Linked DNA regions of Homo sapiens: region 1 is linked to region 2. Evidence: promoter capture Hi-C in 16 types of primary human blood cells and fetal thymus (Javierre and others, 2016). All regions are on one chromosome and are shown on one strand. The core of a region is centred on a gene start or on the middle of the fragment in contact, and the rest is flanking DNA. Distances in the headings are between cores, read along the strand shown. Region 1 has its middle 17 kb from the start of YWHAB. Region 2 holds the start of CCN5 (cellular communication network factor 5).

The links. Contacts are between HindIII fragments. The CHiCAGO score rates a contact against its expected background, and 5 or more counts as called.
Region 1: a contact is called between a fragment that was not itself captured here and the fragment with the promoter of CCN5 in region 2, in 5 of 17 cell types (M2 macrophages, M1 macrophages, M0 macrophages and 2 more). The highest score is 9.5, in M2 macrophages.

The regions. Positions count from the first base shown.
Region 1 is chr20:44,866,015-44,871,209 of GRCh38, forward strand. No RefSeq gene overlaps it. Among named protein-coding and RNA genes, the nearest start is that of YWHAB, 17 kb to the right of the region's middle. The HindIII fragment of the contact is 2,555 bases long and covers 1,031-3,585 here.
Region 2 is chr20:44,712,530-44,718,142 of GRCh38, forward strand. It overlaps CCN5 (cellular communication network factor 5), which reads left to right and starts at 2,840. Exons shown (of 4, transcript NM_003881.4): 1 at 2,840-2,921. The coding sequence starts at 2,862. KCNK15-AS1 (KCNK15 and WISP2 antisense RNA 1) reads right to left here. Exons shown (of 5, transcript NR_132377.1): 4 at 4,096-4,264. It overlaps LOC124904911 (a long non-coding RNA gene), which reads right to left and starts at 2,245. Exons shown (of 2, transcript XR_007067598.1): 1 at 1,412-2,245. RefSeq lists a silencer at 2,139-2,433. The HindIII fragment of the contact is 18,609 bases long and covers 582-5,613 here.

The DNA of each region.
Region 1 (5,195 bases), core at 1,058-3,557, 150 kb after region 2:
CTGACCTCCATTAATCTCCCTTACTTACTCCACACTTTCTGGCTCACGATAACCCCTGTTAACAACTGATGTGTACACTTGCAGAATTTTCTCCAAGCCAATATAATTATACATTTCTTTATAGAAGTCCTGTTTTTAACTCTTGCAATATTCATATTAAAGGACACTAATGGGCTGTGCGCAGTGGCTCGTGCCTGTAATCTCAGCACTTTGGGAGGCCGAGACGGGAGGATCATTTGAGGTCAGGAGTTCGAGACCAGTCTGGCCAACATGGTGAAGTCTCATCTCTACAAAAATATATAAAACTTAGCCTGGCACGGTGGCATGCACCTGTGGTCCCAGCTGCTCAGGAGGCTGATGCTGGAGAATTGATTGAACCCAGGAGGCAGAGGTTGCAGTGAGCCCAGATCGCGCCACTGCACTCCAGTCTAGATGACAGAGTGGGACCCTGCCTCAAAAAAAAAAAAAAAAAGAAAAGAAAAGAAAAGAAAAGAAAAGAAAAGAAATAAAGGACACCAGTGGTGGCATTTGGGGCACCAGACAGTAACTGTTGAAAGAGATTTCAGCCATAGAAGGAGCCCTTCTTGACACCCCTAAAATTGCACTGCTGAGGTGATTGTCACGTGAGCTCACCCCGTCACAGTTCTGGAGTGAGCGTGAGAAGGCTGAGGGTGAGCACCTCTGTCCCCACCAAAGAAATGGATCGCCAGGCCCTGGTCTCGTGGTTTCCAGGTTTGCTTGCAGGCCTGCCTGCGAAGCTCAAGGAACTGCAGAGTCACTTCTGTCTGGAGCTCCTGAATGCAGTCCAGCTAACCTTCCCTACCCGGAAGCCCTTCAACATCTTTTCTCCATTCCCTTTACGGGTTTTATTCTTCTTTTGCCTGCTCAGCAATTTTCACCAGTCCAAGGACCGAATGCTCTGCTCTCAGATCAATAGCCCTTGGGAAGTACTGCAGACAGTCTCTGAGATGCACCCTAGCTGCTCCTGCAAAGGAATTGCTTTCTTTCTGACTCAGTTTCACTTGAATTAAGCTTCTTCTGCTTTATGAAAGCAGCCTCCTTCCAGAGCACAAGTTGACATCAACCCAGAACCAGAAAGAAATCAGTGGCTGGAACTTGTCTTATTCATCTCTGGAAAGTCCAGCTCTCCAGCAGAGGCTTAGAATTCTATTTCCTTTTTTGTTTCTTAGTCATTGCGCTTGAGAAGGCATTTAAAGATGCTCTTTGGCTAGAGTAAGTGCTCAGTAAGCATTTGTTGGCGAAGGGATAAAACAGTAAAGATGGAATAATCAGCATTTGGTAAATGGTTGGTGAAGGAGAATCAAATGAGATAACACATGTGAAATTGATATGTAATCTGTGAATAGTGAAAATTGTTCCTGGCCAGGCGTAGTGGCTCACACCTGTAATCCCAGCACTTTGGGAGGCCGAGGTAGGCGGATCACTTGAGGCCAGGAGTTCAAGACCAGCCTGGCCAACATGGTGAACCCCCCCCCTATTAAAAATACAAAAATGAGCCAGGCGTGGTGGCACATGACTGTAATCCCAGCTACTTGGGGGGCTGAGGCAGGAGAATCCCTCAAACCTGGGAGACGGAGGTTGCAGTGAGCCGAGATCGTGCCATTGCACTCCAGCCTGGGCGACAGAGCGAGACTCCATCTCAAAAAAAAAGAAAAAGAAAAAGAAAAAGAAAAAGAAAACCAAAGGGACTCGTCCGCAGCGTTATCTGCTGGCGCCATCTTCCGGAAATAAGTTAGCACAACAGGTCTATTTCTGTTTCAGCGGGGCGTGAGGGCACTGGAAATGCAGGCAAGGAGGGGAAAAGAGAGAATGAATTTTAGCAAAATCTCTCCATCTCCTCTGTCCTGGATCATCTAATTACTCTACCAAGATTATCATTTTAATGTAATAGTACTACTAACATGCTAGCACTTGTTTTGAGCACCTAGTACGTACCAGATACTGTGCTCAGTGTTTTACATGTGTTATTTCATCCTCACAGTAACTGCAAGAAGTGTATATAGTAAGTCCTCACTTAACTTCTTCGATGGGTTCTTGGAAACTGCGACTTTAAGCAAAATGATGTGCAGCACGTCCTCAAGTAATGTCCTTCCATTATGATTATGAGGGAAAAAATGGTTTCATCATACATCATTTCACTTAAAGTTGCAGTTTCCAAGAAACTATCAACATTCAGTTGATATTAAAAACCCGAGGCATACAAGGTGTATAGTGGACTTATCATCTCTAGGATTACATATCTAGTTGGTGTTTGGGATAAGACTGAAACCCAGTTCTGTCTGACTTCAGAGCCTGTGGTGGGCTGTTGTGAGTCAGGTCCCGAGGAATCAGACTCCAATATGGAGATTTGAAGTCAGGAAGTCTATTGCAGAGTGCTGTCGGGATTACATCTGTGGAAAGGAAAAGTCAAACTGCAGTGCAACCTCAGCAGAGGCCTTGGCTAATGCCATGGGGAATATAGAGCTGGGATGGCAAGAGGACAGGACCTTGGAATGTCCACCTCGAACAGTCATAGGGACTCAGCTGAGAGCTGCCAGCAGCCAATGCTCCCAGCAGCTGGGGGAATAAATGCCCCATCCTGGGGATGGGGGTCTGGGTGGCACACCACAGTATGCACTGCAGCGCCCACTACCTATTCCCCATGCATTGCTCCTCAAATAAGGGAGATGGCTGGGAGGGAGACAACATCAGTGATGGGGTAGTGGAGGAGGAATTCAGAGAGTAAAAATGGTTTTGTCTGTCTTCCATCCACCTGTGACCTAGGCTATGCATGCCATCCAGCTGCAATAACCAATACATTTGGGTCATTCATGTTGATATAATGTATGGATTATTTTATGGGTTGCAAGCCATTAACAAATAAATAAAATGCAATATTCCACTGGCTGATTGGAGATGCATTCTTTGACATTCTCAAATAAGAAATGGAAGAATTGGCCAGGCACAGTGGCTCACGCCTGTAATCCTAACCCTTTGGGAGTCCAAGGCTGGGGGATCACTTGAGGTCAGGTGTTTGAAACCAGCCTGGCCAACATGATGAAACCCCATGTCTACTAAAAATACAAAAAAAAAAAAGCCAGGCGTGGTGGTGGGCGCCTGTAATCCCAGCTACTTGGGAGGCTGAGGCAGGAGAATCACTTGAACCCAGGAGTCGGAGGTTGCAGTGAGCCGAGATCATGCCACTACACTCCAGCCTGGGCGATAGAGTGAGATTCCATCTGAAAAATAAAAATAAAAATAAAATAAAAAGGAGATGGTGCCTTCTGCCCTGGGGTTAAAAAAATTAAAAAATTAAATTAAAAAGAGATGGATCTATTTGTATAATATGGAAAGACCTCTAAGACATATTTTTGCATGAAGAAATAAGATTCAGTACCCTAATAAACTATATAAAAATTATATCTATTTCTAGAGTTTTACATACACTATAAAAGGATGGAATTTTACCGACTTGCCCTATGGAAGGATTCTACATCCCCACCCCACGTAAGTCAGGCATAGCCATATGATTTGCTTTGGCCAAGGGAATTTGAGTGGAAGTGACATGTGAGACATCCAAGCAGAAGCTTTAAGAGGCTCCCCCATTCTCTCTTTTCCTTATTCCATGAGATCAGCATGTTCCAGCTGCTTCTTCCAGCTGTGTCCAGAGATACAGCTGAATTCAACCCATCACAAACATGCAATTAAGATATAAATTTTTAGGCTGGGCGCAGTGGCTCACGCCTGTAATCCCAGCACTCTGGGAGGCTGAGGCAGATGGATTGCTTGAGCTGGGGAGTTCGAGACCAGCCTGAGCAACATGGTAAAACCCTGTCTCCACAAAAACCACAAAAAATTAGCTGGGCCTTGTGGCACACATCTGTAGTCCCAGCTACTTGGGAGGCTGAGATGAGAGGATCACCTGAGCCCAGGAGGTCGAGGCTACGGTGAGCCATGATCATGCCACTGCACTACAGCCTGGGAGACAGAGTGAGACCCTGTCTCAACAAAAAAACAAACAAACAAAAGACATAAACTTTTATTAATATAAGACACTGAGACTTTGAGGATGTTGTTATTGTAGGTTATTGTAGCATAACCTAACCTACCATCACTGATAATACATGTTGCTATATATAACTGATATGTGGTTACTTCTGGGGAGGAGAAATGGCATTGGGAGGTGGCGATCATAGGGAATTTTAGTTTTTAATCTTTAATATTTTAGTTTTCTTACAATAAAAATATATCCACACATTACTATGTAATAAATATACATTATTTTAAAATGAATACAGCAGGTATTTCCCTACTTAAAATTAAATGCCAAAAAATATCTTTTTTTTTTAGACCGAGTCTCGCTCTGTTGCCCAGGCTGGAGTGCAATGGCATAATCTCGGCTCACTGCAACCTCCGCCTCCCGGGTTCAAGCCATTCTCCTGCCTCAGCCTCCTGACTAGCTGGGATTACAGGCGCTGGCCACCATGCCCAGCTAATTTTTGTATTTTTAGTAGAGACGGGGTTTCACCATGTTGGACAGGCTGATCTCAAACTCCTGACCTCAGATGATCCACCCACCTCGGCCTCCCAAAGCGCTGGGATTACAGACATGAGCCACTGAGGAGCTCTATTTCTGATTAAACCTATAGACCTCTCTGAGTTAGGATCTCAGCCCTTGTTCCATTAAAATGAAAAGCCAAAATTGGTTGCATGTATAGCAAAGACCTTGAAATATCATAGACTGCCTTGCAATTTCAACTTCTCATTCAAGCCAAACAACAGCCCTCTTTATCTTTGAAGTTTACTTTTGAGCAAAATCAAAGTGGCTAGACTCCCTGATCCACTGCCTAGTCCCCAGCTTCATGTGTGTCAGATAGTTACAGTGACCAGAGCAAGAGTAGCAGCAGCACCTCTGGCCTCTCAATCACATCTATGGTGACTTTGAAACAAAAGCCTCCTGGACTTCTGCAACTCCTGCTCTTCTCATGAATTTGTAACCACCTAATTCCCTATAGTCAATCCCTTTCTGCCTACAATACCTAGAGTGGTTTCTGTTCCTATCTCCTGCACAGAGGCATGACTTAGTACAGGTTGGAAGATAATATTCAGAAAAGAGACACAAAGACAAAAAGATGAAAAATTGGAAAGAAAAAGAAAAAAAAACAGTAAAATTAGAAAGCCATTTCAAGAGGTCA
Region 2 (5,613 bases), core at 1,590-4,089:
TAGCTGTGTAGCTTTAGGCAAGTTACTTAACCTTTCTGAACCTCACTTTTTTCAATTGAGATGTGGATCATGAGGATTAGAAATGCTGCTTTTTATAAACAGTGCTTAGCACAAGGGCTGGATCTTGCTGGGTGCTATACACAATTGCTTTTATTTTTATTAATATCAGTGGCCTAGGGAGGACAGGAAAGTCGGAGTGACCTTTCCTGGATGCAGGCAATAACGGGTGGGGGGCCTACAGAATTTAAAGATAAAATAAAACTGATGAGAAGTCAGTCTGCTTTTATGATCACTGTGCAATGGCAGATCTAAATAATTTCAGTGGTAAAATACTTTGTCCTGAAAATACCCTTTATTGATCTAAGTTCTAACAATTGGTGCAGTAACTGTTGGGGTTTAATAATGTATATGTAAAGCTTCAAATCAGCACATTTTTATTCTTATCCTTTAATAAACATATTCTACATGGAAGTCAACTTGACTTGGAGAACTTTAAGAATCCTATAGTTGCCCCCAGAGCATGTGGTCTCAGGAACACACATCAGTTGAGAGTAAGCTCCTCACAACTCTGGAATCTTCCAAGCTTGCTTTGAATGCATTCCTGTCTCCACCGTCCAGCATTCATATTTCTGCATTTATTTTTATTATTATTTTGTGTGTGTGACAGAGTCTCTCTCTGTCGCCCAGGCTGGAGTGCAGCGGCAAGATGTCGGTTCACTGCCACCTCCACCTCCCGGGTTCAAGCAATTCTCCTGCCTCAGCCTCCTGAGTACTTGGGACTATAGGTGTGCACCCACCACGTCCGGCTAATTTTTGTATTTTTTTTTTTAGTAGGGACGGGTTTCACCATGTTGGCCAGGCTGGCCTTGAACTCCTGATCTCAGGTGGTTCTCCCACTTTGGCCTCCCAAATTACAGACGTGAGCCACCGGCCCAGCTGTATTTCTGTGTTTAAACAGTAGAGTGAAATCAACTATGAACGCAGAATGATGGGAAAGATGACGATAAGGGTATTTCAATTTTGTCATTTTACGAAACTACTTGGAGTTTTGATTTGTATTTACAGTTTTTAAAAGAGTAAAACAGTGTGAACTGTGAATGGTAATGATTTTGTTTGGTAAGTGCAAATTTTAATTCATACATGAAAAATATTTGTTTTGTTTCATGATTATTACTGAAAATAATTTTGTACTATGAAGGAAGAGGGGTGTTAAAAATGATCCACTGTGGATGTAAATTATTCTAGGCATGCTTCTGACTAAAACATTAGCATTTCCACAAGAATCCCAAAAAATAAAACAAAATTTAAAAGATCCCTTCTGTTTCTTTTCCTCCAAGTTTCCAGACCCCCATCTCCACCCTGGCCACCTCTTCCTGCCATAAATAATCAAATCCCACACTTTCATCTTCACCTTCCGTTTCCATTGCCTCTTCCGATGGGACAGCACCCGTGGGGAATCTCCTCCATGCTCACAATCCCCGTCTTGCCACTATATCAAGTCACACTTCTTCCTCACCAATCGCCCATTCTGGAACCTCTGCTATCCAGCTAGATCACTTTGAGGTTTGGACAACTACTGGTGGAGGTAATGGGGGCCCCAGACAGCCCTTGACATCACCTCTTTTATCTTTGCCAAATTCTACAAACAAAGCCCATGTCTTTCTGTCCCCCGCCCCCATGGCTGGCACATAGTAGATGTCCCCAAATCTTGGTGATGTGAACTTGTGTGTCTCACCCTTCACAGACATCACCATTTCCCGTTGCACAGAAGGCTCCACTCATACCAGGCGCTTTGGCTCCCAGAATAAGCAGGCTATCATGCTATGTCCGACATCTAGGCGTTGGTACGTACTGTTCCCTTGGCCTGGAACATTCTGCCCTCTCTCACCCTCTCTTTTCTTGGCTTTCTGAAATGGCACCTCCATCAGAAAGTGTCCCTCACTCTTGGTCTGAGCAAGGGACCTTGCCTGGTATTCCTGAACTTCCACCTGTTTTCCCTCTGTTTTCTCCCTCTCTGGGCCTTGTCCTCAGGTCAGTGTTGTGCCTCCAGCTCCTGCAGAGGCGAACTCAGAGGCGGCCGAATGAAACCAAATGGATTTGGCTTGACCCCATCATCTAGCGGTGCCCAGCAAGCGCTGGCACATAGTAGGTCCAGCCTGCCCGGACTCGCCCACCACGGGCCCCCTTCCAGAGCCGGGAGGCAGGCCAAGGGAGGCCCCTTATTGCCAAGAGCAAACAGGCCGCCCAGGGAAGTTTTGCTCTGGGTCACACCCACCTCTGGGTGGCTGCCAATCTGCCTGCCAGAAACCGCAGGCTGGGCCGCGGCTACCCAGAGTCAGGGCCACGGAGCTTAGGAGACCTTGGGTCAGCTCTGCAAAGGGGTTGTTTACTGAATGCTTCTGGTATCTGCAGCCCCGCTGGGGTTCGGACAGGGGGTCTGGAATAGGGCTTCACAACTACAGCAGGGCTAGGACCCTCTTGGGCTGGAAGGAGCTGGAGAGGCCTCTGCAAGCTGTCACAGGCTCTTGGTGCTGGCACTGGCTCAGGCTTTCACACACACACACGCGCACACACACACACACACACACACGGACAGGCACCCCCTTGGTGGCCTTCACAGTTTCACCTTCAGGTAAATGGGCTCATCCTTTGAGCCATGAGGATGGGAAGCGAAGCAAGGAATGAAAAAGCTAGTGTGTTTGTGTGTGTGTGTGTGTGTGTGTGTGTGTGTGAGCGCGCGCGCGCGCGCGCGTGTGTACTCGTGCGTGTGCCTGTGTGTGCCTGGGAGTGACCTCACAGCTGCCGGAACATAAAGACTCACAGGTCCGCCTCCCAGGCTCAAAGCTGGCTCTGCAGGGGACATGAGAGGCACACCGAAGACCCACCTCCTGGCCTTCTCCCTCCTCTGCCTCCTCTCAAAGGTAAGGAGGCCCGGGCCCTGGAATGCACTGCTGACTATTTGGGTGTGGAGGGGGTGGGGATGTAAAATCGCAGCCAAGGACCCCCTTGGCAGAATTCCTCCAGGGCCCCACATTGGGCACAGTCTGGCCCCCATGCCTAAGCAGGGCTTCTCTCCCTGGAACTCAGAGCTGCCTCCGGCCAGCCCTGCTGTGTGACCTCAGATATGTGTCTTGCCTTCTCTGGGCCTCAGCATCTTCCCAGGTGAAGGGTATACAGTTTGTGAGGCCTCTGTGAAGACCATTCATGATCATTCATCAAACTTACCAGGCAAATTGAAGAGGACTTTAATGTATCCTCATTATGAATGGGGGCACTCAAGACATGACATGCTTGGCCTAACTCTGAGCCAGCATTTGGATGGATGCCTAGCTGATTGGAAGGTTCATTCTGCAAGGGCATCAATGCTGTTGGACTCTTAGGCAGTGAGTGACCCGCCCGCCCTAGCTAGAGGGGAACAGGAGACACCTCTGTGGAGTAATGGCCTTATCCCTGAATGCTGCATGGGACATTCACCAAAGAGCCTGTGGGACATCTACCTTGTCTAACATGCACAACAATCCCATAAGGAATTTTCAGTTAAGTGAGGCTCAGAAAGGGTAAGCAACTTGCAACCCCAGTTTTCAGTCAAGTGAGGCTCAGAAAGGGTAAGCAACTTGCCCAAAGCCACACAGCAAAGAAAGGTCAGAGCAATAGAGGAGAGCCATGGTGGAGCCCAGAATGACATGGATGTAGGGGGAGAAGCACTCCAGTCTGTGCCTCCCCAAGCCCAAACTGGACCAAGGCCACAGCTGCTAAGCCTTGTCATCCCCTCGGCAAATGCTGAGTTCCCAGAGCCATGGAATCGGCCCCACCACAAGCCACGATCTCACTGTATTTTCACGCTCCTTTGAGGAGCACGGGCAGGAGCTTCTCTCCCTCAGGCTCCAAGTCTTCGTGCCTGGGAAGCCTGAGAACCACGCTGGCATCCTGTCCTGCTGTTTGTTCTTCCAAAGGGGATGGGTAGGGCATGATGCCAGTGTGGGTGGCTTGGGTAGTTGGAATAGGGGACTTGGGGCTCTAGGAGGGAGAAGGGGCCCAGGATTATACGAGAACAAAGTAAAGCTGTCCTAGACTTGCCATTAGGGTGAGACTTACGGGACCATTCTTCCCTGGTCCCAGGAAGCAGGGACTGCACAGAAACACAGGGACTTAGTCACCACAACATGGAAAGCCACAGCAACCCTCAGAGGGAGAACTGTAAGTCTTCCAGGCTGGCCGTTGGCTCCGGGGCTCCTGGCTGTGGACCGGGGCAGGAGGCAGACACCTGGACACAAGCAAAATCACATTGATCAAGGACTGGCCAGAACCTCATTTAATCTCCATCATCACTCAGAAACAGGTTGTCTCTACTCCAGTTTACAGAGGAGAAAACTGAGCTTCACCTCCACCTTCCAAAGCCGTTTGTCCACATGTTCAGTCACGTAGCAAGTCACTGGCAGAACTTGAATCTCAACTCTTGCCCAAAAAACTCCATGCCCAGTACTCCTGCCCCAGATATCATGAGCCTTGCCCCCCACCACCAGATATCACAGCAAGGCCCTGGGGAAACTGAGGCACAATGGGACAACTTGAGTTTGGGCCTTGGATGTCAACTTGAACTTGGATGTCAATCCTGATTCTGTCTCTTACTGGCTGTGTTACTACACGGTTTGAGCTCCAGTTTTCTCATCTTTAAAATGGGCATAATGATGGCACCTCACATTGGAGGGGTAAATGAGACAACAGCACTTGGCACATGACATACATATGGTATCACATGAGATAATTGTACACTAGAATAGTTGATATCATTAATAGCCTCTCCTGGGTATCGGGGCCTACAGAGTCCTGCCCCCTGACAAGCATGGCCAGTAGAGGGGTCCACAGTGGGAGCCAAGGTGCACAGCTGCTGGTCTATTTCCTGGCACTCCTGTTTTCAGGTGGGAGGGACCTGAGAGTCATTTCTGACAGTCCTCCCTCCATTGCCCACAAGCCAAGGGAGCTGAACCTCTGACTTAGAAGGGAACCCAAAAGCCTAGACCGTTTCTATGTGAATCACCTGTGGATTTATGAAAATGCAGATTCGGGCTGGGCGTGGTGGCTCATGCCTGTAATCCCAGCACTTTGGGAGGCCGAGGTGGGTGGATCATGAGGTCAGGAGTTTGAGACCAGCCTGGCCAGCATGGTGAAACCCCGTCTCTACTAAAAATACAAAAAATTAGCTGGGCATGGTGGCATGCACCTGTAATCCTAGCTACTTGGGAGGCTGAGGCCTCCCAAGAATTGCTTGAACCTGGGAGGCGAAGGTTGCAGTGAGTCGAGATCGTGCCACTGCACTCCAGCCTAGGTGACAGAGCAAGACTCCATCTCAAAAAAGAAAAAAAAAAAAAAGAAAGAAAAAGAAAAGAAAATGCAGATTCGGATTTATTATATAAAAATTCAGCTTCGGATTTATAGAGGGGCTCCAGATGCTGCCTCTCTGACAAGCTCCTAGATGACGCTGCTGCTGCTAGTTCAGACCACACCTTGAGGGGCGAGGCTAGGCCATCGTCTCTAGAATCTGAACAGCCTGCAGCGATGGGATCCACTCCCTTGTGAGGCAGCCAGACACCTAGCTCCGTGTGTCCATCTGCT